Linked DNA regions of Homo sapiens: regions 1, 2, 3, 4, 5 and 7 are each linked to region 6. Evidence: promoter capture Hi-C in 16 types of primary human blood cells and fetal thymus (Javierre and others, 2016). All regions are on one chromosome and are shown on one strand. Each heading gives the region's core, a stretch centred on a gene start or on the middle of the fragment in contact. The rest is flanking DNA. Distances are from core to core; before and after follow the strand shown. Region 1 has its middle 4.3 kb from the start of GNL2. Region 2 has its middle 24 kb from the start of LITATS1. Region 3 holds the start of SMIM12 (small integral membrane protein 12). Region 4 overlaps GNL2 (G protein nucleolar 2). Region 5 overlaps SNIP1 (Smad nuclear interacting protein 1). Region 6 holds the start of OSCP1 (organic solute carrier partner 1). Region 7 overlaps MEAF6 (MYST/Esa1 associated factor 6).

Region 1 (3,817 bases), core at 972-3,471, 1.2 Mb after region 6:
GTCAAGCTTAAGTTACTGGTTTGATTTGCCTGCCCTGCTTGCCGCATTGTAATGCAGTGACTATTTTTCACTCTCTTTTCTGATGTCATGCCAACTAGCAGAGGCAAGATACACCTCCAGGTCTACAGTTCCTCAGCTTTAAAACAGATGCAATAGCTTAACTACTCTGAAAGACTGCAATAAGATCATATGAGTTACAGTATATGAAAGCATCGCAGACATGGTACACATCATGCAGATGGGATGCTTTCTATTTTTCTTCTTTTTTTTTTTTTTTTTTTTGAGATGGAGTCTTGCCCTTTCACCAGGCTGGAGTGCAGTGGCATGATCTCAGCTCACTGCAAACTCTGCCTCCTAGATTCAAGCTATTCTCATGCCTCAGCCTCCCAAGTAGCTGGGATTACAGGCACGCACCACCATGCCCAGCTAATTTTTGTGTTTTTAGTAGAGACGGGGTTTCGCCATGTTGGCCAGGCTGGTCTCAATTTCCTGACCTCGAGATCTTCCCGCCTCGGTCTCCCAAAGTGCTGGGATTACAGGCATGAGCCACTGCACCGGCCAGGGATGCTTTCTATTTTTCTCAAAATCCAAGGTGAGCTACTCATCCCCTCAAATGTTGCTCCTGGTAACCACAGGTTTGTGTGAATGAGAAGACCTTAATGGATGGAGACTGGCTGGAAATGCCATGTTCTGGACTGGTGTCTTCACAGGAAGCAGACAATCCTGACCTTACTTTTTTTTTTTTTTTTTTTTTTTTCAGATAGAGTCTTGCTCTGTCACCCAGGCTGGAGTGCAATGGCACGATCTCAGCTCACTGCAACCTCTGCCTCATCAGTTCAAGCAATTCTCCTGCCTCAGCCTCCCGAGTAGCTGGGATTGCAGGCACCCACCAGGACACCCAGCTAATTGTTGTATTTTCAGTAGAGATGGGGTTTCGCCATGTTGGCCAGGCTGGTCTTGAACTCATGACCTCAGGTGATCCACTTGCCTCAGTCTCCCAAAGTGCTGGGATTATAGGCATGAGCCAGTGTGCCGGGCCCTGACCTCACTTTTATCTTCATTCTGTAAAAAGTTTATCACTGGGGTCTAATGGGCAAATAGCAGCAGCTTCTAAAGCAACATTTTTTAAAGTGTGGTCTGAGAACCACAAGCATCAGAATCACTTGGGGGATCTGTTTTAAAATGCTGGGCATGGTGGCTCATGCCTGGAATCCCAGCACTTTGGGAAGCAGAGGCAGGTGGATCGCTTGAGCGCAGGAGTTCGAGATCAGCCTGGGTGACATGGTAAAACTTTGTTTCTACAAAACATACAAAAATTAGCCAGGCGTGGTGGCTCAAACCTGTAGTCCCAGGTACTTGGGAGGCTGAAGCTGGAGAATCTCTTGAGCCTGGGAAGTGGAGCCTGCAGTGAGATCGTGCCACTGCACTCCAGCCTGGGTGACAGAGTGAGATCCTGTCTCAAAAATAAAATAAAATAAAACAAAAATGCAGATTTCTGGGTTTTATCCCAGAGCTTCCAAAATCAGACCATCTTGGGGGTGGGGCCAAGAGAATCTACATTTTAGCAAGCTCCTCAAGTGATTCTTGTATATACAAAAGTGAAGTCTTTTCCAAGAGTCACTCGGAGGCTTTCTGACCTGCTGACCAGAAGGCAGCCCTGGAAGATCAAGCTTCTTTCCTACCTATCTTAAATCATCTTGTTCTTCTTAGCAGAGCCAGGGTGAGGAAGGCTGCTGCAGTGTCTAATGCACTCTGAAAATATATATCTTGGCTCTGCCCCAAATGCCTTGATATTTATGCTGCAGCCGGAGGGTCGTTATCCTTTGGCAATGCTCATTTGTAAGGCCATTAGCTCTTAATTAGTGCCGGCTTGTTGAGTTGTACTTCCCAGTTGAACTGCTAGCAGAAGCTGCTCTTTTGGGGCCTCTTGTGTCTCTCCTCTGGCAAGCCCATGAAGCATTGACCCGTGCCTGCTGAGGCCAAGAGTTGGGCCCCTGGAATGGCCGCTGCCCAATGTGAAACAGTCCTAGTCCCCAAATGCTAGGTTCTGGGACTCTGGAAGAACAGAGAAAGGCTCAGAATATACATCTTCAGGATTTTGTTGTTTTGTTTCACTGATAGAAAACAAAAAAGTGAGTCCTTGGTTATACAACCTCAACAGTTTTACAAGCAAATTCAAGTATCAGAAAAGTAAAGTTCGGCCGGGCGTGGTGGCTCATGCCTGTAATCTCAGCACTTTGGGAGGCCAAGGCAGGCAGATCATCTGAGGTCAGGAGTTCAAGATCGGCCTGGCCAACATGGTGAAACCCCATCTCTACTAAAAATACAAAAATTAACCGGGCGTGGTGGCACACGCCTGTAAACCCAGCTACTAGGGAGGCTGAGGCACAAGAATTGCTTGAGCTTGAGAGGCAGAGGTTGCAGTGAGTCAAGATTTACACCAGTGCACTCCAGCCTGGGCGACACAGTGAGACCCTGCCACAAAAAAAAAAAAAAAAAAAAAAAAAGGAAAAGAAAAGAAAAGTGTATTAACTTAGAGCTTCATAGGCCAAGTTACCCTCAGTTTTCAGTCTAGGGTGTCTGGGAAATTCTTGGACAAGGATATAGCAAACTAGTGGGCTTGCTACCTGTAAAAATGGCTAGGAGACTCACCTCTGGGAACCCCAAGAAACTTTTCTTCATGGTCACCACTTCTAAGTGGGAAAAACAGTCGTATTAGTCTTGGCATGCATCTCACTGCTGGGTAGGAGCTCTTCAAAAAGATCCCCAGATTAAGCTTTGGAAAAATAACTAGAAGCATTTCGCTCCTTCCTATCACCAAATCCCTTGTGGTCTTCGGCATATTCTGCTCAAGAAAATCTGAGAAGCACTTTTATGAGATGCTATTAATGGCCTCTAATTTTCAGCATGGTTTAGATAACTCAAGACTGCTGGCCGTGTCCTGAGAAGTGGATCCAGAACACACATTGATGTGGGAATTTAAAGTATAATTCCAAATTGTAGGTAATTGTTTAAGCTCTGAGGAGGCTGGAGGGCCTATATTAAGTCATCTCCCCAGGATCAGTGTGTTTCCTATTACACTCAATATCTATCTGTCCAGGGATCCTTTTGATTTTGAAGCCGTTAGACCAAATCTTTGTGTAATTCTTTACTCCCTTCTCTCCTGCCTACCTCCCTCCTTTTTCTTTAAGAAAACACTTTTTAAAAACTTTATCCAGGTCCCTTGGTTTGTTTCCAGTAGAATAATGTCATGTTAAAGAATCTGAAAAGTTAACTTCCCATCTAAAACCAACAGATCAGTGGAGCTCTGTCTGTCAGAAGTTCAGTCTTGCCCTAAGGGCATCCTCTGCCCAGCAAGACACTGAGATTTTCCTTGACCTCCTCCATCCCTCTTGCTCTTCTGTCTAGACTAGGAACAAAATCTTATTTCTAAAATAGAGATTCAGGCAAAGGTATGGAAGAAAGTCAGGGTGAATATCTTCTCAAGCAGCAGAGGAAGAACTAGTCAAAACCTTTAGCTATGTTTCCTTTTTTAGAGCCCCAGTTAGAAAAAGATAAGTCTATCACTCCCTCATCTTTGGGAAAAGCAATCCTTCCTACTCACTTTTTAACCCAGTTTGGAGGAATCTTCTAGATGTTTTTGTTTTGTTTTGTTTTGTTTTGTTTTGAGACAGAGTCTGGCTCTGTCACCCAGGCTGCAGTGCAGTGGCACAATCTCGGCTCACTGCAACCTCGGCCTCCCGGGTTCACGCCATTCTCCTGCCTCAGCCTCCCGAGTAGCTGGGACTACAGGCGCCCGCCACTACGCCTGGCTAAT
Region 2 (3,566 bases), core at 551-3,050, 1.0 Mb after region 6:
GGGCTCCAAGGCAGCCTCCCCCGCCCCTCCACATTCTCAGCCCCCACTATCGCCTGCCATCTGAATGTGCAAGGTAGATGTGCACACCAACCCCTGGGCATGGGTCCTGGGGGTAGAGCTGGGTGGGGAGCTGAGGCTGGCATCCCTGTATGTGCTAGTGCCCGACCTGGGTGCACACAGCTGCCAGGGAGTGGGGGGAGCCTCCACAACTGCCTCACCCGCGCACCTCCCCAGCCTCTGCTGGAACTGCTCCTGGCTCCTGGCGCACCGCGCTCCTGTTGTTTAGTTTTTCTGAACACCGAGTCTCAACCCCATGTTAATTGGTTTTACTCCACTCTTTTGTGCCACCCATTAAATGAGGAAATGCCACCCATAAAATTTTAATTTTAAAAGCCAACTTGTTTGTTTTATATTGAAATTCCCCGGGCAGCTCCAGCAGAGGGAAACAGACACATTTTCGTTTCATTAAAGCAACTTGAATGAAGATGAAAAAGAAGCTGAAAAATTAGATTTAAAAACAGAGAGTGAGAAGCATTTAAAGAAAATGAATGAAAGTGAGCTGCCACAGAAGGCGGTGGGGACCACAGCTCCATCTCTGCCTTCCCAGAGCCTCCTGCAGGGAGACAGTGGAGCAGAAGTGGGAAGCTGGGAGTGGAAGGGGACACTCTGGGTGCCCCCAGAAGGCTGGACCATGCACTCTCCTCTCACTAAAGCTGGCCCCCTGGATATCCTAGAGGAAGGAGGGTAGAGCATCCTGGACCCTGGGACCAGAAGCATCCTTCCTCCCTGGGGACAAACTGCATGGCGATGAGGCTTGCTGGCTTGGAAGCTGAGCCGTCTGGATGGTCCTGGCTCTGCCACTTACCAGCTCTGTCAAGGTGGGCAAGTGGCCTGTTTTGCTCTTCGTAGTGATGATCTGTAAAACAACCCAGCTTATAGGGTTGGTATGAAGATTAAATAGAATAGTACCTTGAAAACACTTTAAATAGAGCCCGGTATGCAGTAGGTCCATAACAAATGTTAACTTTGACTAATGACATCCGGCTGCCTCCCTTCCATTGCATACTCCTTACACATTGCCCCTGCTGAGTGCACCTCCCTCCTTCCCTTGCCCACACATCCCCCTCCCCCATACCCGCCACCCACTTCCTTTTTTTAGGAGGCAGGGTTTAGCTCTGTCACCCAGGCCGGAGTGCAGTGGCACAATCAAAGCTGACTGCAACCTCGACCTCCTGGCCTCAAGGGATTCTCCCACCTCAGCACCCCTCCCCAAGTAGCTGGGATCACAGGCATATGCCACCATGCCCAGCTAGTTTTTTTTGTTTTTTTGTAGAGACAAGGTCTCGTTATGTTGCCCAGGCTGGTCTAGAACTCCCAGGCTCAAGCAATCCTCCCACCTCAGCCTCCCAAAGTGCTGGGATTACAGGTGTGAGCCACCTCTCCGGCCTTTTTGGGTTTTTGTTTTGTTTTGTGTTTTGTTTGGTTTTGACGGAGTCTCCCTCTATCACTCAGGCTGGAGTGTCATGGCTCACTACAGCCTCAAACTCCTGGGCTCAAGCAATTCTCCCACTTCAGCCTCCTGAGTAGCTGAGACTATAGGCACGTGCCAACACGCCCAGGTAATTTTTAAATATTTTTGTGGAGACAGGTTCTTTCTCTGTCGCCTAGGCTGGAGTGCAGTGGCACGATTCCGGCTCACTTCAACCTCTGCCTCCCAGACTCAGGTGATCCTCCCACCTTAGCCTCCAAAGTAGTAGCTGGGACCACAGGCTCGCGCCACCACGCCTGGCTAATTTTTAAAATTTTTTTTAGTAGAGAAAGGATTTCACCTTGTTGCCCAAGCTGCAAAGTTCCTTTTAATGATGTCCCTGAGCTGAAGACAGCTACAAGAGACTGCGGACGGTCTGATGAAAGGCTTGGGAAGCCTCATTCCTTCGCAATTCAATTCTTGTGGGCCAAACCAATTAAAATGTTCGTATAATCCTTCCAAGGAAAGCCAGCCTCCCTGGGTTCAAATCCCAGCTCTACCACTCACCACCTGTGTGTTCTTGGGCCAGTTTCTTCTGGGCCTCAGTGTCTCTATCAATAAAATGAGACTCACAGCTGTCATGAAGGTCACAAAAAACAAGCTCTGTGGAGTGCTGGGCAGGTAACCGGCCAGTGAGTGGCGGCTTTTACTTTCAGCATCAGTTGGAGACACAGCAGCAGGAGAGGGTGTGGGGGTCTGAAGCTGCGGAGGGGGAGGGCAGGGCAGGGGTTCCATCACAGAATGACCTCGTGGGGGTTCTCAGCTATTGCCCTAGGGTAACTTTTTTTTTTTTTTTTTTTGAGATGGAATCTCGCTCTGTTGCCCAGGCTGGAGTGCAGTGGCACGATCTTGGCTCACCACAACCTCTGCCTCCCGGATTCAAGCGATTCTCCTGCCTCAGCCTCCTGAGTAGCTGGGACTACAGGTGCACACCACGATGCCAGCTTTTTTTCTTGTCACCCAGGCTGGAGTGCAGTGGCACCATCTTGGCTCACTGCAACCTCTGCCTCCTGGGTTTAAGCGATTCTCCTGCCTCAGCCTCCCGAGTAGCTGGGATTACAGGCACCCGCCACCACATCAGGCTAATTTTTTGGTAGAGATGGGGTTTCATCATGTTGGCCAGGCTGGTCTCAAACTCCTGACCTCAGGTGATCCACCCGCCTCGGCCTCCCAAAGTGCAGGGATTACAGGCGTGAGCCACCAGCCTAATTTTTGTATTTTTAGTAGAGATGGGGTTTCACTATGTTGGCCAGGCTGGTCTCGAACTGCTGACCTCTGGATCCACCTGCCTCAGCCTCCCAAAGTGCTGGGATTACAGGCGTGAGCCTCCGCGCCCGGCCGCCCTAGGGTAACTTTTAATGACACTCCCTTTCATTCCCAAACGTATCCTAATCTGGATGACTAATTATATGGTCATCCTACTCCAAATCCCCCACGCCCAAGATGGGGCCTGGGAGCTGGCCCATGGTGTTGGGAAAGGGTTCTACTCCTGACCTGTTTTCCTTTCCAGACCCTTGGGATTGCCTAAGCCCTGGGTCCCAGCCCCAGCCCTAGCCCACTCTCAGGCCAAGGAAACTCATTCCCTCAATTAGCATTATAAAGCGGCAGGGAGGGGAAAGGCCTCGAAGGCGGGTGCCCGGAAGGTGCTGGGAATGGGAGTCTGTTGGGATTCCGGGCCTTACCTCTGATCCTGACGGCAATTCCTCATATCCTTAACTTCCTCTTTCCTGCAGGGAAATTATTAACAGTACTATCTCTGATTTGCAAAGATCAAATCACACAAGGACTGGCGGTGAAAGTGTTGTGTGGTCCGATGAGTGGCATTAGGAGGGCAGTGACTTCTGCTTCGGCCACCAAGGCAGAATTCCCAGATCCTGTTTCTCCGGTGATTGTGGGGGAGACAGAGATGGAGCATAAAGGGTCACAAAGGGTCCACAGATGGCTGGGGGTGAGGTGTCTACCCAGTGCCTCGGCCTATAGAAGTCTTCTCACTCACAGCCCCTAGCCCACTTCCACCAGGCCCGGAAGGACACCTCCA
Region 3 (3,872 bases), core at 730-3,229, 1.6 Mb before region 6:
AGGGACCAGTTTCGTGGAAGACAATTTTTCCACAGATGGGGGTTGGAGAGGGATGGTTTCGGGATGAAACTGTTCCAGCTCAGATCATCAGGCATTAGATTCTCATAAGGGGCACACAACGTAGATCCCTCACATGCGCAGTTCACAATAGAGTTTGCACTCCTGTGAGAATCTAATGCCGCTGCTGATCTATCAGAAGGTGGAGCTCAGGCGGTAATGCTTGCCAGCTTGCCCACCGCTCACCTCCTGCTGTGCAGCCCAGTTTCTAATGGGCTGAAGACCACCACTGGTCTGTGGCCCAGGGGGTTAAGGACCCCTGCAATAAGGCAGCATCATGAAATTTAAAAAAAAAAAAAAAATTGCAGCATCTCCAAGACTCCCCCGCTTATTGTCTCAGCACCAGGCACTATGATGACAATTTACACACTAATCATCATTTGATCCTCATAACACCTCTATGATGTAGGAATTATTAGCCCAGACTCTTGTGAAGGCCACAAAGGCTCACAGACATTATGTTAACTTATCCAAGATCACTAGAAGTGATAGAGCCACTGATTTTGAACCCAGGCCTCTCCAATTTCAAAGCCTACACTCTTTCTAGTGGGAAGAACACACTGCAGAGGTATACGGTTTCTGTCCAAACCCTGGACTTAGGGAGAGCTTCCTACAGTTTTTTCCCATCAGCCTGGCATTTCATTACCTAGAAGAGCTTTCCTTTTCCCAAACTCTGAGATTGTACTCAGGGATTTATGAAATTCAGAGACATAGTAATAGTTAAAAGAGGCACCTCTGAAGAATCCCAAACCTAATACTTCTCCATTTTACTTCCACCTTTAAAGCAAGTCCTCTGTATAAGTAAATGCTTCCCTAAATAGCAACTGTCCGTTCAGATTTCCAAACCTGTCTTAAAACATATCGCGCATGAGTTCACAACTATCTCTCACATGCAGCATAAAGTCTCTCGCTACCGTCCTGCTCACATTCTAATCATTCCCAAATAAGTCAATTCATTCCTTTATTCGACACTTATAACCACTTACTCTGTGTCAGGCACGATGCTGGCTTACCCTGTCTGCGTTTCTCAAGACACTTTAAGCTCCAAAAGGCTAAGAACCGTGTCTGTCTGGCCCAATTATGCCCTATCCATCCAGGCACCTCTCCTACCCTGCCTGGCAGAGTGCCCAAAAAAGGTCTGCTGAACGAATGAATGACAGCCCAAACTCCCTAGTGTAAAATCACAACATCCTCCACCCACTCTCCCCCAAAAGGTGGCAGGAGCATAACAGATGCCTTTGCTGATTACAAAAACCTAAAGACTCCATCATAGTCGTCCCCAGGCAGGGTATCACAATGAAAGAGGCAAAAGTGTCTGAAAAACACTGTGACGCATATTTCCAGCCCGGCATGGAGGACGTCTGCCAAAAGCATCCGGTAAAGGTCAACTGGGCTGCTGGGAAACCTGCCCCAGTGCGAGGGCCCGGAGGCCCAACGAGGCCAGAAGCCGTAGTCCCAAATTCAAGAACTACTAACAAGGACACAGGAGGCCTGAGAAGGCGGAAGAATTAGCCCTGACAGTCACTAGAGCGCAGTCCAGGAATGGGAGCGCAAGTAAGGCGAAGGTCCATCCAAATGGCTACCCTTCTCCCTTCTGTGAGTCTCCCGGTCCCCTGTCCCTAGCCCACCTCATTCATGGCCTCATCAACGTCCGTCCTCATTGAGGTGCCGAGAAGCCCTGTCTGCGGAGGGCTACCTGGGCTCCCAGACTTGGCACCAGAACACCCGCCAGAGAGGGGAGCTGGCAGATCTGGCCGGGACCGGGGTGGACCCTAGCGATCACTCCTCCCGTAACTCAGAGGTTACTGGCCTGGGCTGACCCGACCTGCTCGCCGGGACCGCGCGCTCACCTGCGGCCCAGCCCACACTCCCCAGTGCGGCCCCCGCTCTCCGCCCGCTCGCCGGGAGCACGGAAGTCGCCGCACCCAGCGGCCCGCGGGACCTTGCCCTGTGACCCTGCCCACTGGCCGCCGGCTCTCTCGGAGCGCAGGGATTGGCTGAACTTCAGCCAAAGGACGGAAGGAAGCTAGGCGTCCGCAACTGGGCCCCACTGCGCTGAAATGGACGTCGCGCCCTCTGTTGGCCGGGAGGTTTCTCAGTGATGTCGCCACGTGTTTTCTGCGTGGAAAAAGTGAAAGATCATCCAGTCATTTTTTTCAACTGATGTTTATTAGGCGTCTTCTAAGACCTAGGTCTGGGCACGCAAAAACAAAAGACATGATCCCTGACCTCAAGAAGCTCTTCTTAGAAGAGTATATTTTAGTGCTTTAAGACCTCTTGGGATCCGGGCTAGCTTTCTAGTGACCTTGGGAACATTATTAACCTGTCTGAGCCTCCCTTCCCCTTCTGTGTAGAGGTAATAACACCCATTTCGCAAGGATGGTGTGAGGGTTGGAAGAGATAATATTTGTAAAGTACTGTGGCAGGCACACAGCCAGCAGGGAAATAAATGTGGCTATTGTTAGTGTAAAAATAATTCAAATATAGTAAAACCTAAGTCTTACATGACCTCTTGGGTACAAGTATTCACTTCCTCCTCTGTGTCCCCACTGTACCCTATACAGACATCAATTTTATCATATACAGAAAAGTCCCAAAGCTCAAGCTTGTTAATGCTCCCACAAGGCCCTTCCCACCCTCATCCCACTAATCTCAGCCTGCATATTTATTTTGCTCGCACATACTAAACCCGGCAGACCACACTGTTTCACACCTCAGTGCCTTATTGATGCTTTTTCATCTACCTTCCCACCTTTTTTGTTGTTGTTGTTCAATTTCACTCTTGTTGCCTGGGCTGGAGTGCAATGGCGTGATCTCGGCTCACCGCAACCTCCGCCTCCCAGGTTCAAGTGATTCCCCTGCCTCAGCCTCCTGAGTAGCTGGGATCACAGGCATGCACCACCACGCCCGGCTAATTTTGTATTTTTAATAGAGAAGGGGTTTCTCCATGTTGGGGAAGCTGGTCTCGAACTCCCGACCTCAGGTGATCTGCCCGCATCGGCCTCCCAAAGTGCTGGGATTACAGGCGTGAGCCACTGCGCCTGGCCGCTTTTTTTTTTTTTTTTAACAGGACTCTCGCTCTGTTGCCCAGGCTAGAGTGCAGTGGCACAATCATAGCTCACTGCAGCCTCAACCTCCTGGGCTCAAGTGATCCTCCCACTTCAGCCTTCCGAGTAGCTGGGACCACAGATGCACACCACCAGGCCTGGCTAATTTTTGTACTTTTTGTAGAGACTGGGTTTCACCATGTTGCTAGGGCTGGTCTCGAACTCCTGAGCTCAAGCAATCCGCCCGCCTCAGCCTCCCAAAGTGCTGGGATTACAGGCATGAGCCACCGTGCCTGGCCATGTAGTGCCCTTCCCACCTTTCTTTACTATGCCAGATTGTGCTCTGGCACAATTTTCAAGCTTAAGGGTCACCTCCAGAGGAAGCCTCATACATAGACTGCTTATCACATTAGACACCCTTCCTCTATTATCTCAAACAGCTCAAAGCTAAGCTCTGGCAGTGAAGATGGAGAAAAGGGAACAGTATTGTAGGGGCCAAGGTTCACTGAAAATCAACTGACAAAAGGCAGATTAATAGGAGAAAAGACATACAAAATTTTATTTTAACGTGCATAGCACGGGGCGGGGAGGCGAGGGGGTGGGAAGGGAAGGGTCACAGGAGAATGATTACCCAATAACCCAATGGGGTACAGAAGCGTATACACTCTTTTTCATAGGGGAAGGGGAGAGATGGAGAATATAGACAATTCTTCTGAGGGCAGCAAGTGATTCTTAGGGCGAAAAAATGGACAGAAATTAACTTGTAAA
Region 4 (3,641 bases), core at 1-2,500, 1.1 Mb after region 6:
TATTTTTCACGTTGTGTGTTTCATAGTAGCGCACACCAACTTTTTTCGGCCGTTGCTGTCGTACTGCTCGCCTCCGCTGTAAAAAATGGCAAGAAAAGATGAAGAAAAAAAACAACAAAACCCTGAAAGTCATTCACAAAACAGGAGTCTCTGCTTCTCATCTCTGTGTTCTATTTCCCGTGCTGCTTCCACAGCTACTGGAAGCAGTGCTAATGAGGGAGGGCTCCCCCGTAGACCTAAGGTTACTCTTCCATTGTGACTTATGCAACTCCAAGTTACAAATCCACATGTGATCCAACCCTTAGCCAGTGCAAGAATCTGTTCTGCATCACTCCTGACAAGTCCCCTGCAGCAAGGCTGAGTGCTGCTAACCACTCCCCTCCCCAGAGGGCCCACTCTAGCTCTGAACAGCTCAGCTCCAAAGCTGTCCTTCACAGAAGTCAGTGATCTGCCCAAAGCAGATCTGCTCATTGGGTCGTTTCCCTTGGGACTAGAAACTGACTCCTCTAGAGGATAGTCCACTCGTGTGGAGACGTTGATTAGAAACTCCTAAAACGTATGACATGGACTCAAGGACCTGCATCTAGTGGGCCAGACCCGACCCTATTTATCTGACCTCAACTAGGTCAACGAGGACTGGGGTTCTTGGGATTCAGCTCTGGACCATTTGTTTCAGTGGGTCTTGACAACTGGAGTTCTAGTTACTCTACTTGGGCCATACTTAAAACCTATGACACTTACTTCTTTTGATGTAAGCGCCCTGGGAGCTTTATTTGAATGTTCCTGTTCCTCTTCCCTTTGTGCCTTCCGCTTCTTTCCCTTTTTGGAAGGTGCTGGATACAAACAATACACAAACAGGAATTTTCTATTGAAAATTTGTCTATAAACCCAACGGTGGGAACAAGCTTGATGTATCAGGAGGAGGACACCCAATGTGGACAGAGCAGGTGAGCACAGTGGTGAGTAAAGCAGGCCAAGGGGAGGCTGCCAGGTAAAAGGATGCCCTAAGCCATGCTCTCAGTGTGAAAGCTGATGGTCAAATGGAGGAATGGATAAATGCAGGAAACACACCCCCCTCTTTGTCTGTGGACCCACCCTTGGATTCTAGGTTAATAATGAACCCTTTCTAGGAAGTTTCCTGAATTGCCAATTTAATCCTAAAAAATGTGCAGAATGAAAAGCAGATAATTCAATTTGCATAACACTATGTAAATTTAAAGTAATCTGCCAGATATGACAAACATTTATGTGGATGACTGAGATAATTTGGAGACTGAACTTAGGTTTCTCAAAACTCTAAATATGCAAATTACATCTAAATGATTGAAATAATTTAACTTCACCTCTGTCATCTACATCTTCTTCCAGTGTTTTTCTTTGTTCTTCAGGTTTTGCAAATATCTTTTCACTCAGTCCCTTGGATATTCTGAAACAGAAAAGCAAAGTAACATTCCTCCTCTCACTCGCCCGAATCACATACTGACCTGGAGACCTGCGACAAACTCACAGACTAAAGAAACCCCACTCCTATCCAAGTAGTTATCACCAGTGGAAGAAGTCAACATCCAACATGTTTGTACCTCCCTGGGTGTTTCTAAAGCTTCTCATACTGCAGGCAGCTGAATTTTACAAAATTTACAGTTCACTTTTTAAAAATGGCAATAACAGCCAAGTGTGGTGGTGCACACCTGTAGTCACAGCTACTTAGGAGGCTGAGATGACAGCATTGCTTGAACCCAGGAGAGTGAGGCCAGTCTAGGCAACATAGCGAGACGCCGTCTCAAAAAACAAACAAACAAAAAACCCAACCGAACAAACAAATGGCAATAACCCCATGTAAAAATATGGCTCTGGTACTCATGGCAAATTTTTGGGAAAGGAATGAAAATCTGCAATTTGTGAGAAGATGAAAATATTACCTGACTGCTGAAAACTTTTTGGCTTTGGCTTTGTCTAGAAACTTCTGATATTTGGCAATCTTCTCATCCAGTGCTTTAATAACGGCTTTGGTGTCGTTTCCCACATTTTCCTCCTCAGGCTCCGAGGAAGACTCTTCCGCATCATCTCTTTGTTGCTCCTGTTCCTCCTCCTCTTCATCAGAAAAGCTCTCAAGCTCTTCCTCAAGATCTGACACCTCCACAGGAACCAGGTCATCCCCAGAAAACTGAGGCACCACGTTGATTTTACCAAAGTTCTGCCGAACTCGTGTGAGAATCTGCTGCATCTCTGTGTTAGCATCACAGTGACTGTTCTCTTCTGTTTCTTCCTTAATGATGGATTCTGACCCTTCACCTGCAGTTTCTGTGACTTCCTCCCCTGGATTGTTCTGGGCTGCTTCTGGGACAACTTCCAAAGATGAGGAGGGTAGAAGCTATTAAGGGGTGGAAATGGGGGAAATAAATAGAATCAGAAAATGAAAAATGGAATTTCTGAACTCATATCTTGCTCTTAAACAGTCCTCTTCTCAGGACTAAGGGAAGGTATTGAAAACACCCAAATTTGAGTCATTTCATTAATGTATTTTTAAACCAATGTACATTAAGCCCAGAGATCAGTACTAGGATCAAAGGAATACATGTGTAGTTCCACAGGATGAACCAACTAAGACTATTTAAACCATTAAAACCAACCAATGATTTATCATAGAAAAGCAAGGCTCCCTAGACCTTCCCTAGGGGGCTGCTGATATAAGCACATGCAAAATCAGCACACACAACTACATAAAAATGAAGGCCAGGCTGGATGTTACAGATGAGAACAGTACTAAGAGAGGCATTTGAGGAGGTCCTCTGATTTAAATGTGTCCCCCAAAATTCATATGTTGGAAACTGGTATGGTTTGGCTGTGTCCAAATCTCATCTTGATTTGTAGCTCCCATAATCCCCATGTGTTGTGGGAAGGACCGGGTGGGAGGTAATTGAATTATGGGGGCAGGTCTTTCCCATGCCGCTCCTATGATGAATTAAGTCTCACGAGAGCTGATGGTTTTATAAAGGGCAGTTTCCCTGGACACACACTCTTGCCTGATGCCATGTAAGACATGCCTTTGTTCCTCCTTCACCTTCCGCCATGATTGTGAAACCTCCCCAGCCATGTGGAACTGTGAGTCCATTAAACCTCTTTTTCTTTATAAACTAACCAGTCTCATGTATTTCTTCATAGCAGTATGAAAATGGACTGATACAGAAACTTAATCCCCAATGCAGCAAGTGTTGGTAGGTAAGGCCTAATAAGAGGTAATTAGATCATGAGGGCTCCATCCCCATGAATGGACTAATGGATCTCGGGGATGGGTTCGTTTTTAAGAGTGAGTCTGTTGGCCGGATGTGGTGGCTCACGTCTGTAATCCCAGCACTTTGGGAGGCCAAGGTGGGCAGATCACAAGGTCAGGAGTTCAAGACCAGCTTGGCCAACATGGTGAAACCCCATCTCTACTAAAAATACAAAAATTAGCTGGGCCTGGTGGCATATGCCTGTAGTCCCAGCTACTCAGGAGGCTGAGGCAGGAGAATCACTTGAACCCAGGAAGCAGAGGTTGCAATGAGCCGAGATCGTGCCACTGCACTCCAGCCTGGGCAACAGAGCAAGACTCCGTCTCAAAAAAAAAAAAAAAAAGAGTGAGTTTGTTATAAAAGCAAGTT
Region 5 (3,305 bases), core at 623-3,122, 1.1 Mb after region 6:
TGGAGAAATCAGGAATTCTTTCACAAAGAACAGATCCACAGCCAATTTCAGTCACTTGTGATGCTGAATCAGCACCCACTGGTAGCAACCAGGATCCTTCTGTACAGTCACGGGCTTGAGCAGGTGCCATAAAGCATCTGTTTAAGTTAAACAGTCAATAATGTTTACTGACTGCAGTACATTCCCACCCCCCAAAAAAATAAGTGCAAAATCAACTTCTAAGCTCAAGAGCTCAAACAAGTCAAAGCTTTGGTATATACTGGAGGTTGTTTTGGTGATAACCAAAGCCTAGTAAGATTCTCTGCTCAGGGGTTCGCCCCAAAAGAAAAACACCTGGTCCACAAAGCTTAACACCTATATAAATAAAGTAACTGTACAAAGAGAACAAGCCATGATTTCCCCTTAACCAAGGGTTTATAGTTTCCTAGGCAGCAGTTCTGAAAGCACCAACTAAAACCACAACACTTCTACTAAAACACGGTGTGTTGTAATTGGTGAGACTGTTCTGAAAACAAATGCCTGCAGGCATGTGGCCAAGGTGCCACAGAAAAAGTTTAACAAACATTAGTCAGTGTATTCAAATGGTAACACAATCTGGTCAGCAACAGAGGAAAGACTTAAGGCAGTAAGAGGCATTACAGAGAGCACCATAGTGCTGGACCCACCACCATAGTGCTCTCTGAGTCAATCAAAGACTTCCAAGAAGGAAACCGTGTATCAATAGTTTGGGTTCTTAGTTTGCTAGCTGTCAGACACTTCTTCCTCCTCCTCCTCATCCTCGTCATCTTTCCTGTCTATTTCAGAAGTGTCCGACGACTCATGGAGCAAGACGTATTCTCTGCTACTGAATCCAAATTTGAGTACATCCTTTTCTTTTAGTTCATAGTATCTCTGTGGCTCAATACGTTTGTTGTTTAAGAAGGTTCCATTGCCTGAGCCAAGGTCAATGATGTAGGGCTTCACTCTTCGGCCAACTGTGCCATCAGCACGGGTATATTCCACAAGCCTAGCAGAAAAAAAGGAGAAACCTGTGAGCAAACTTCTGCCTCAGATCATCCAGCTTCTCTAAAGCTCTTTGCTAAGATAGCCTAGATGACGTAAATAACCTGGCTTGAGCACAATTCAAGTTAAAATTCTAGGGAATCAAAGAAATCAAGGGGAAAGCATGGCCCTGGGAAGGAAAATTGGAAGTTTAAATATACTTAGAAAAGGTGAGAATGGACCGGGCGCGGTGGCTCACGCCTGTAATCCCAGCACTTTGGGAGGCCGAGACGGGCGGATCACGAGGTCAGGAGATGGAGACCATCCTGGCTAACATGGTGAAACCCCGTCTCTACTAAAAATACAAAAAAATTAGGCAGGTATGGTGGCGGGCGCCTGTGGAGCCAGCTACTTGGGAGGTTGAGGCACGAGAATGGCGTGAACCCAGGAGGCAGAGGTTGCAGTGAGCCGAGATCACGCCACTGCACTCCAGCCTGGGCAACAGAGCGAGACTCTGTCTCAAAAAAAAAAAAAAAAAAAAAGGTGAGAATGAGTTGCTGGAAGGTGGGGAGAATCCATGGTAGATCAAAAGGTGGAAATGCAGAATCCAATGTCTCTTGCTGTGGTTAAGAAAATACATTTTTTTCTGTTGTTTATAATCAACATAATGTTTCTTTAACCTATATTTCAATATATTTTAGTTCCTGTCCAAATGGGAAAAAACAGTGCACTTGGACTTCAGAGTCAAGGGAGCTATATTTGAGCCAGAGTTCTACTATGGCAGGGGTCCCCAGCTCCTGGGCCATGGACTGGTACCAGTCCGTGGCCTGTTAGGAACCGGACCACACAGCAAGAGGTGAGCAGCGGGCAAGCAGGCAAGCGAGCCAAACTTCATCTATATTTTCAGCTGCTCCCCATCACTTGAATTATCATTGCCTGAGCTCCGCCTCCTGTCAGATCAGCAGTGGCATTAGAGTCTCGTAGGAGCATGAACCCTATTGTGAACTGTGCACAGGTGGGATCTAGGTTGCGCGCTCCTTACGAGAATCTAATGCCTGATCTGTCACTGTCACCCATCACCCCCAGATGGGACCATCAAGCTGGAGGAAAACAAGCTCAGGGCTTCCACTGATTCTAGATTATGGTGAGTTGTATAATTATTACATTATATATTACAATGTGATAGTATTAGAAAATAAAGTGCACAATAAATGTAATGCACTTGAATTATCCCGAATTCCCCCGGTTCCATGGAAAAACTGTCTTCCATGAAACTGGTCCTTGGTGCCAAAAAGGTTGGGGACCACTGTACTATAGTGATCATTTGTTAGGCAAGTCACTTGGTTTTGCTGGGCTTCAGTCTTCTCATCTGTCAAATGGGGATACAAATACGTGTCCATTCGAAGTCAGGAGACCATGTTAAAAAACAAACAAACAAAACGGGCCAGCCGCAGTGGCTCACACCTGTAATCTCAGCACTTTGGAAGGCCAAGGCAGGCGGATCACGAGGTCAGGAGTTCGAGACCAGCCTGGCCAATACAATGAAACCCCGTCTCTACTAAAAATACAAAAATTAGCTGGGTGTGCTGGTGTGTGCCTGTACTCTCAGCTGCTCGGGAGGCTGAGGCAGGGGAATCACTTGAACCCGGGATGCAGAGGTTGCAGTGAGTTGAGATCGCGCCACTGCACTCCAGCCTGGGCACAGAACGAGACTCCGTCTCAAAAAACAAAAAATCTATCCTATCCTTCTCACAGGATTGTTGTGAGAATCATCACAGATGTCCCATGCAAGCTATCAAGATCCAGTTTCAAAATTAGCTGGGCACAGAGGCACACGCCTGTGGTCCCAGTTACTCAGGAGGCCGAGGCAGGAGACAATCATTTGAGCCCAGGAGGTTGCCGCTGGAGTGAGCTGTGTTTGCTCCACTGCACTCTAGACTGGGTGACAGAGTGAGACCTTGTCACAAAAAAATAAAAAATAGATTAAAAGTTTAATGTTCTTATAAATATGTAAGCAATTATTTAAAGGGCAGTTAGATTAACAATACTCTTTAGATAACATATGAGGGGTATGGGATTCTTCTGCATAAACATGAACAAAAATCTTAGTAATCCTAACTGAGTGATTGTTTCTGCTCACATTACAGTTTCTTCCTCCATGTTACTTACCGATATTGAAAGACCGCATGCTGCTTTGAACAAGACGGGTGATCAATTGGAATGTCTGCAATGCGGCGGTGTCGACCCAGTAGGTACGCACTCTGTCGATGTATGTACATGACTGGAAGCACCTCATCATTTTTAAATGGGTAGAGACGCCACCG
Region 6 (4,038 bases), core at 1,511-4,010:
GGGAGGATTAAGGTGTTTAAGAGGAGCCCTTGGTACAAAGTAAGTGCTTGATTTTTCATTGTTTTATTGTTGATTGCTGTCACTAGAATCAGTTACTGGAGTGGACTGATCAATAGCCCTACCTCCAGTGAATGTCCAGAAGGGCTGCATCAGGCTCCATATAGTATCTCACATAGTGTTTGACACTCAGTCAAAATCTGTGGAATGAATGAGTGTGCGAATGTAAATTACTAAAGATGGCCGAAACTCCCAAAACCATATTTAGCAAAAGCAGAAAAAAGGCTATAACTCCTAAAGGTAAAGCTGTCCTCTAGTATTCCAAGGGCCTTGTCCAGACCTCCTCTTGAAAGATACCTATTACTCATTGTGTTAAACATATTAAATACATTATTTCATTCAATCCTTACAACTTTGCTTTAACATATATGTATTATTACCATTTTATGGAGAAACAGGTTTATAGAGGTTACACCCAAAGGGCATGCAATTAGTTAAATGGTAAAGCTGGAATTGGGATCCAGGTCTGTAAGACTCTAGAGAGTATGTTCTTAATTGCTAATTTACACTATCTTCCAAGATGCAGACTACCTACCAGTCTGAGGACTCCAGCATGTCACCTCATTGGTGCCACTAGCCTGAATGAAATCAGATCACACAGGCACCAAGGAAAACAGAACCCTCTCAAAGGAAAAATGACAATGCTATATAAAACTGCCAATTTAGATAATCAGTTCAAAAAACATTTTGTGATCACTAATTTATTCTGGTCTAGGAATTATGGTAGGTGCTGGAGTACAAAGATGAATAAGACAATCAAGCGGGAGATAGACATATACACAGATCATTTCAGTATAGCATGGCCAGTGGTAAGGTACTGAGGAGCAGGCATGGGGTGCTATGGGAGCACAGGCTGCTATGAGAGCATGCACAGGCCCTTTCTGCATATGGGGAGGATTCCTGAAGGAGATGATTCTTAAGCCGAATAATGCAGGATTGAAGGGGAAGAATGTAGGGATGGGAATTACTAGCACAGAAATACGAACAAACATGGTTTAAGCGGAGATCTATGAGCAGTTTGGTATTATTGGGAAACAGGAGGCAGGCAGTGGTGGAAGAAGGGACTGCAGAGGAAGACAGAGATCAGATAAGGAAGGGCCCTGAAATGGCCTGTGCAAGGACTTGGTCTTAACCCAGATGGCAGTGGAAAGCTGACAAAGGGTTTTAGGCAGGGGCAAGTTTGGACAGATACACATTTTAGAAAGCTCATTGGCGGCAATGTGCAGAATGAATGGAGGGGGTATGTTATAGGGAGTTATTTTTAGCTCTTTATGCATGGACTTGCACTCAGTCACACACACACAATAGTTAATATCTGAATATGTATGCTTAGCATCTGAATATGTATGTTGAACATCAATTGAGCATACAAAGATTAATGGAGAGAATGTTTTAATTGGCGGCCATGTCAATTGCCTTTTCAACTTTTCCTCCTCCACTTTGAAATATAATATTTCCTTCATACTTAATCCTAGGAAATTTGGTATAAGCAAGTTGTTTGCCGAGAAGGGAGGAAAAGAGGAAAAGGAACAGAGTGGCAGAGTGTTCTGAGTCGTCATTTTTCTGGGGATTAGTGTGGTGTCCATGGGAGGCAGATTTTGCATTTTCGAAGCTCTCATATAATTATTTTCACAATTGTATTCCCCTCCAACACTTGTGAGGAGATTTATAACTTTCTTATTTTTTTCATATTTATCTATATTATTTTAGAACACCAAATTTCTAGAAATACTTCTGAGATGAGTAAGACCAATCTCCAGCTTATGTGGGAAGATACTACCATAAAGAAATTAAGAATCTGAACCTGGGCTGGACGCGGTGGCTCACGCCTATAATCCCAGCACTTTGGGAGGCCGAGGGGGGCAGATCGTTTGAGTCCAGGAATTGAAGACCAGCCTGGGAAACATGGTGAAACCCCATCTCTACTAAAAATACAAAAATTAGCTGGGTGTGGTGGTGCATGCCTGTAATCCCAGCTACTTGGGAGGCTGAGGCACGAGAATCGCTGGAACCCAGGAGGCAGAGGTTGCAGTGAGCCGAGATCGTGCCACACACTCCAGCCTGGGCGACAGAGCGAGACCCTGTCTCAAAAAAAAAAAAAAAAAAAAAAAAAAAAAAAAATCAGAACCTGTTCCTTGGGGGTAAAGAGGATGCTTGGACTAGCAAGGGGTATGATACTAGATGGTGGGCAGCTGGGACTCCTACATTTGGAAGGCACTGATTGACAAGAGAGACTGGGAAATCACCTCTCCCATTTGAAGAGATGGGGAAATTAGGGAGGTCAGGCACCCTAGTGTCCACTGGGAGTATTAAGTTCCTCTGCTGTGAAAAAAGCTTTTGGGGGGATTTGACTCCCGAGGGGCTCCAAATGGATGTGGCTTGTAAGAAAGGTCCCTGGTTATAAGAGTGAAGTGTGTAGGGGTGCGGGTCTGGCTGTGGGTGTTAGGGCGATGATGAGAGGGCCGGGCTGCTGGCTGCGGGTCTGGCTGAGCGGGCCGGGGGCCTCTCACCTTTGCGGGCCTTGTCTCCCGGGATGTTCTGGGCCCGCAGCCGTTGGTCGAGGATGTAAAGCATCTCCCCGCCCAAGTTCAAGAAGAGCAGCGGTAGCGTCCGCACCGACATGGTGCTGGAAACGAGCTGGACTGGTGAAGAGCCCCGGGGTTCGGTAGCCAGTGGCCTGAAGGCCAGGCCGCAGCGTCCCAATAGTCCGGTTGCTGGGGCAACGCCGTGACGGGAAGAGCGAGCCAATCAGAAGGCGGTTTGGTGGGAGGTGCCCTGAAGACGGGAGCTAATTGGTCTGGGTGGTGGACCGTCCCGGGGGGATTGGTCCGAGCCAGAGGCCGGCGCGGCGTTGGGCGCGGCTGGGGAGCTGTGCTTCTGAGAGTAGGTTTCCCTCGAAAGGGCGAGGGCCGGGCCAGGGCTGGGGGTGGTCTCGACACAGCCAGCCCGGCGCTTGGGACCCCGGCCGCTGGCGCGGGGCCTCAGGTTCCTATAACAGAGGAAAGCCCAGGCAGAACGGCATTAGAGCAGGCTCGGGTCAGACGGACCTGGGTTGGAATCACGGCTCGTGATTTCTTGCTGTGTGACTTCGGGCAGGGTTTGAGCCTTGGCTTCCTCTTACGTAACATGGAGCTGGCACTCACATCACAGGGCGGCTGAGAGGAATCAGTCAGATCATGGAAAGGCCCCGAAAGCACTCAATAAAAATGGTAACTGACTTTTCTTTTAGACGAGGGAAGGATCAGAAGTCCTGAGTCGTTTGCATCGCCTCCCAAAAGTTTACTTGAAGTGAAGCCCCTCCTGGTTTCATACTCCATGAAGCAAACCAGTCCCGTCCGTCCCCGTGTGTCCAGTTCCCAGAGGATGCGCCTGGGGGCTCTGGGAAGTTCCCTCCTCGACGCTGTTCCGAAGGCCTCCCAACCATTTCTTTTTTCTTTTTTTTTTTTTTTTGAGACGGATTTTGCCCTTGTCGCTCAGGCTGGAGTGCAGTGGCGCCATCTCGGCTCATTGCAACTTCCGCCTTCAGGGTTCAAGCGATTCTCCTGCCTCAGCCTCCCGAGTAGCTGGGATTACAGGCGCCCGCCACCATGCCCGGCTAATTTTTGTATTTTTAGTAGAGACGGGGTTTCACCATGTTGGCCAGGCTGGTCTGGAACTCCTGACCTCAGGTGATCTGCCCGCCTGGGCCTCCCAAAGTGCTGAGATTACAGGCGTGAGCTATCACGCCCGGCCCCAACCATTTCTCTTTGAGGGCAGCGACTCCCTTCCTTACCTCCATCTTAAGCTCCAGGATTACTTTTTGCCATCTGCTGTATATTTTTACTCTGATGAACAACCATTTCTGTAAATTTCAGTACTTCCAAAACCTACTAATTATCTTTCCCTCCAGCTACTCAAACTTGAAACTTGGGCCTTGGCTTCCAAATCTGTTTCCCAGGGTCTTTTATCAGTCATCATATTATGCTTTTTCCTCCAACACCT
Region 7 (3,663 bases), core at 619-3,118, 1.1 Mb after region 6:
TTTATTTATTTACTTATTTATTTATTTATTGAGACGGAGTCTTGCTCTGTCGCCTACGCTGGAGTGCAATGGCAGAATCTCAGCTCATTGCAACCTCTGCCCCTTGGGTTGAAGCGATTCTCCTGCCTCAGCCTCCCAAGTAGCCAGGATTACAGGTGCCCACCACCATACCTGGCAAATTTTTGTATTTTTAGTAGAGACGGGGTTTTGCCATGTTGGTCAGGCTGGTCTTGAACTCCTGACCTCAGGTGATCTACCCACATCAGCCTCCTAAAATGCTGGGATTACAGGCATGAGCCACCGCGCCCAGACATTTTTTTTTTTTTTTTTTGAGACGCAGTCTCGCCCTGTCACCCAGGCTGCAGTACAATGGGAAATCTCAGCTCGCTGCAACCTCTACCTCCCAGGTTCAGACGATTCTCCTGCCTCAGCCTCCAGAGTAGCCTGGGATTACAGGCACGTGCCACCACACCCAGCTAATTCTTTTTTTGTATCTTTAGTAGAGACGGGATTTCACCAAATTGGCCTGGCTGGTCTCGAACTCCTGACCTCATGATCTGCCCACCTCAGCCTACCAAAGTGCTGGGATTACAGGCATGAGCCACTGCACCTAGCCATTTTTTTTTTTTTTTTTTTTTTGAGAGTCTCACTCTGTCTCCCAGACTGGAGTGCAGTGGTGCGATCCAGGGTCACTGCAATCTCCACCTTCTGCGTTCAAGTGATTATCCTGCCTCAGCCTCTGAAGTAGCTGGGACTACAGGCGCACCCCACCATGCCCGGCTAATTTTTGTATTTTTAGTAGAGACAGGGTTTCACCATATTGGCCAGGCTGGTCTCAAACTCCAGACCTCAAGTGATACACTCACCTTGGCCTTCCAAAGTGCTGGGATTACAGGTGTGAGCCACTGTGCCTGGCCACACTTTCATTTTAATACGTATCTATTTTACCTTATTTACTTATTTATATATTTTTTTGAGACGGAGTTTCACTCTTGTTGCCCAGGCTGGACTGCAATGGCGCGAGCTCGGCTCACTGCAACCTCTGCCTCCCGAGTTCAAGCGATTCTCCTGCCTCAGCCTCCCAAGTAGCTGGGATTACAGGCATGTGCCACCACGTCCGGCTAATTTTGTACTTTTAGTAGAGACAGTTTCTCCATGTTGGTCAGGCTAGTCTTGAACTCCCAACCTCAGGTGATCCACTCGCCTCGGCCTCCCAAAGTGCTGAGATTACAGGCGTGAGCCACTATGCCCGGCCAATATATATTTATTTTAATGCTTATTATTTAAAAAGTGGAGAACAGATTAGTGATATGAAGTGTCTCTTAAATAAACTTAATTCTCAAATTTAAAGAAAGAACCAGGGTTCCTTAGAGGAATGGCTGATACCAGGTCTGGGACAAAAAATGCAAAAGGTAAGTATGGGACATCTCTTAGGCCAGAAAGCAATGGAGTACTCCAAAAGTAATAGGGTCATGTTGAAACGACAAACAAGCCAGCTTGAGGAGGCTCCCTCTGACCACAGCTGGGACAAATGTGGGAGAATGAAAGAAACAGAAGTCAAAAAAGGAAGACTCTTTTTCAGAATGCCAGTAATAAATATAAAGGGAATAATACAATTAGAGAATCACTATTTTACAACTTCCAGTGTACTAACGGATTCAGATAAGAATCAACGGTGTATACTAAACAACTGAATACAAATTTAGAGGGAGCAGTATATTCATAATGTCTCAAAGCATAACATCCAAAATTACTTGTTAATCACAATGGGAAAAAATGAACTTTTATAGCAGATAAATCATATGATCAAACTTAGCAGCAACAAATAATAGGACAATGTGACATTATGTGCCTCCTGATAAACTAGAGATAGATAACAAAGGATACACCAATTGCCTATGTAAGATTTTTGCAAAAATGTTTAAAGGATCTTTCAGGACCCTTTTAATCAGTCATGAGTTTTGCCCTCAGAAAATCTCAGGAAACTGCAACATTCTACAAGGCAATGTCATGAATACCACCACAACCACCACCAAAAGGGTGACTCTCCTCAATCTTAAGACATAATAGCCAAATGCATGCATGAATGCTTACTGAATCCTGGATCAAAACAAATTAGCAAAGAATTTTTGGGGACAATTGAGGAAATTTTAATAAAGACTATGTATTAGATACTATTAATGCAGTATTGATTTTCTAGGTATAATAACTGGTTAGGTAGAAGAAATGGCCCTATACTCAGGAGGTAATTACTGACACATTTAGGTGCAAAGTGTCATTTACCTGCATCTAACTTTCAAACCGTTAAGTGGGAAAAAAAGGTAGGGGGACTGGGAGATATAACTACAAAGGAGTGGCATGAGGAAGATCTTTGTGGTAATGGAATAGTTCAGTAACTTCATTGTGGTTACATGAATCTACACACAAGATAAAGTGACACAGAACTATATATATACATTGTACCAATGTCAATTTTCTGGCTTTGATACTGTATTATAGCTACATAAAACACAACCATTGGGGAAAACCAGATGAAGGGTACAAGAGACCATTCTGCCAACTCCCTATGAATCTATAATTATTTCACAATTTAAAAATGTGAAATGTAAATATAGATGTGTGCTTATATTAATATATATTATAGAAAGTAAGAGAAAGCAAATGTCACAACACATTAACAATTTGTGAATATAGGTAGGAGGGTATCAAGTGTTCATATACTATTCTTCCCATTTTCCTATAATTTGAAGATTTTCTAAAAGTTTAGAAATTTTTTAAAAATAATATTACTAAGTAAGCAGTGGTACAGCTGGCACACAGGTATGGCAAAAATTGTGAGGGTCAGTTGGGCGTGGTGGCTCACCCCTTTAATTCCAACACTTTGAGAAGCTGAGGCAGGAGGACTGCTTGAAACCAGGAGTTCCAGGCCTGCCTGAGCAACAAAGTGAGATCCCACTTCTACAAAAAAAAGTTTTTAATTAGTCAGGTACAGTATGGTGTGCCTGTAGTCCCAGCTAATTGGGAGGCTGAGGTGGGAGGATCACTTCAGCCCAGGAGTCTGAGGCTGCAGTGAGCTAAGTTCGTGCTACTGCACTCCAGCCTGGACAACAGCGTGAGACCCTGTCTCTTAGAAAAAAGAAAAGTGGCCAGGCGTGGTGGCTCACACCTGTAATCCCAACACTTTGGGAGGCCAAGGCAGCAGATCACCTGAGGTCAGGAGTTCGAGACCAGCCAGGCCAACATGGAGAAACCTCGTCTCTACTAAAAATAAAAAAATTAGCCAGGCATGGTGGCACGCACCTGTAATCCCAGCTACTCAGGAGGAAAAAGAAAAAAAGAAAAGAAAAATACTGTGAGGGTAGAACTCATGACTGATTAAAATGTGTAAAAAATTTAATAGAATGCTATTGTATAAAGATACTGTATTTAAGCCTCACACAACCCTGTGCCATAGGCCCAACTTTCGCTATTTTACAGATGTGAGCCTTGTCTAAGATTATTCGGTGAGGCAGTGCCTGAGCCAGAGTCCAAGAGTTCAAGTCCAGATCACACCACTACTTTACTACTGCCTCCAGCAAAGTTGCCACTAAGAGCATACAGTCCTAAAAACAAACGTTACTAGGGCACAATAGGAACACTACAGGCTTTCGACACTCACTTTTG

The links. Contacts are between HindIII fragments. The CHiCAGO score rates a contact against its expected background, and 5 or more counts as called.
Region 1: a fragment that was not itself captured here is called in contact with the fragment with the promoter of OSCP1 in region 6 in 1 of 17 cell types (endothelial precursors); the score reaches 6.5 in endothelial precursors.
Region 2: a fragment that was not itself captured here is called in contact with the fragment with the promoter of OSCP1 in region 6 in 1 of 17 cell types (M1 macrophages); the score reaches 5.1 in M1 macrophages.
Region 3: the fragment with the promoter of SMIM12 here is called in contact with the fragment with the promoter of OSCP1 in region 6 in 1 of 17 cell types (naive CD8 T cells); the score reaches 5.6 in naive CD8 T cells.
Region 4: a contact is called between a fragment that was not itself captured here and the fragment with the promoter of OSCP1 in region 6, in 1 of 17 cell types (endothelial precursors). The highest score is 8.0, in endothelial precursors.
Region 5: a fragment that was not itself captured here is called in contact with the fragment with the promoter of OSCP1 in region 6 in 1 of 17 cell types (endothelial precursors); the score reaches 5.4 in endothelial precursors.
Region 7: a contact is called between a fragment that was not itself captured here and the fragment with the promoter of OSCP1 in region 6, in 1 of 17 cell types (endothelial precursors). The highest score is 5.3, in endothelial precursors.

What each region holds. Positions count from the first base shown.
Region 1 is chr1:37,598,309-37,602,125 of GRCh38, forward strand. No RefSeq gene overlaps it. Among named protein-coding and RNA genes, the nearest start is that of GNL2, 4.3 kb to the left of the region's middle. The HindIII fragment of the contact is 1,106 bases long and covers 1,669-2,774 here.
Region 2 is chr1:37,449,030-37,452,595 of GRCh38, forward strand. No RefSeq gene overlaps it. Among named protein-coding and RNA genes, the nearest start is that of LITATS1, 24 kb to the right of the region's middle. RefSeq lists enhancers at 2,329-3,528, 2,931-3,566. The HindIII fragment of the contact is 7,035 bases long and covers 1-3,566 here.
Region 3 is chr1:34,857,770-34,861,641 of GRCh38, forward strand. It overlaps SMIM12 (small integral membrane protein 12), which reads right to left and starts at 1,980. Exons shown (of 2, transcript NM_138428.6): 1 at 1,908-1,980. RefSeq lists a silencer at 1,802-1,931. The HindIII fragment of the contact is 6,874 bases long and covers 1-2,660 here.
Region 4 is chr1:37,566,932-37,570,572 of GRCh38, forward strand. GNL2 (G protein nucleolar 2) reads right to left here. Exons shown (of 16, transcript NM_013285.3): 13 at 1,920-2,371; 14 at 1,344-1,426; 15 at 742-833; 16 at 1-76. Among named protein-coding and RNA genes, the nearest start is that of DNALI1, 12 kb to the left of the region's middle. RefSeq lists an enhancer at 1,284-2,483. The HindIII fragment of the contact is 695 bases long and covers 904-1,598 here.
Region 5 is chr1:37,537,007-37,540,311 of GRCh38, forward strand. SNIP1 (Smad nuclear interacting protein 1) reads right to left here. Exons shown (of 4, transcript NM_024700.4): 3 at 3,151-3,305; 4 at 1-1,006. The coding sequence ends at 742. It overlaps LOC105378649 (a long non-coding RNA gene), which reads left to right. Exons shown (of 3, transcript XR_947190.3): 3 at 1,683-1,730. Among named protein-coding and RNA genes, the nearest start is that of SNIP1, 16 kb to the right of the region's middle. RefSeq lists an enhancer at 2,685-3,305. The HindIII fragment of the contact is 3,056 bases long and covers 345-3,305 here.
Region 6 is chr1:36,447,691-36,451,728 of GRCh38, forward strand. OSCP1 (organic solute carrier partner 1) reads right to left here and starts at 2,761. Exons shown (of 10, transcript NM_145047.5): 1 at 2,568-2,761. The coding sequence starts at 2,679. LOC107984940 (a long non-coding RNA gene) reads left to right here. Exons shown (of 3, transcript XR_001737976.2): 3 at 1,768-1,875. RefSeq lists a silencer at 2,887-3,156. The HindIII fragment of the contact is 5,222 bases long and covers 2,390-4,038 here.
Region 7 is chr1:37,509,765-37,513,427 of GRCh38, forward strand. It overlaps MEAF6 (MYST/Esa1 associated factor 6), which reads right to left. Exons shown (of 7, transcript NM_001270875.3): 2 at 3,659-3,663. Among named protein-coding and RNA genes, the nearest start is that of MEAF6, 3.2 kb to the right of the region's middle. The HindIII fragment of the contact is 4,004 bases long and covers 1-3,663 here.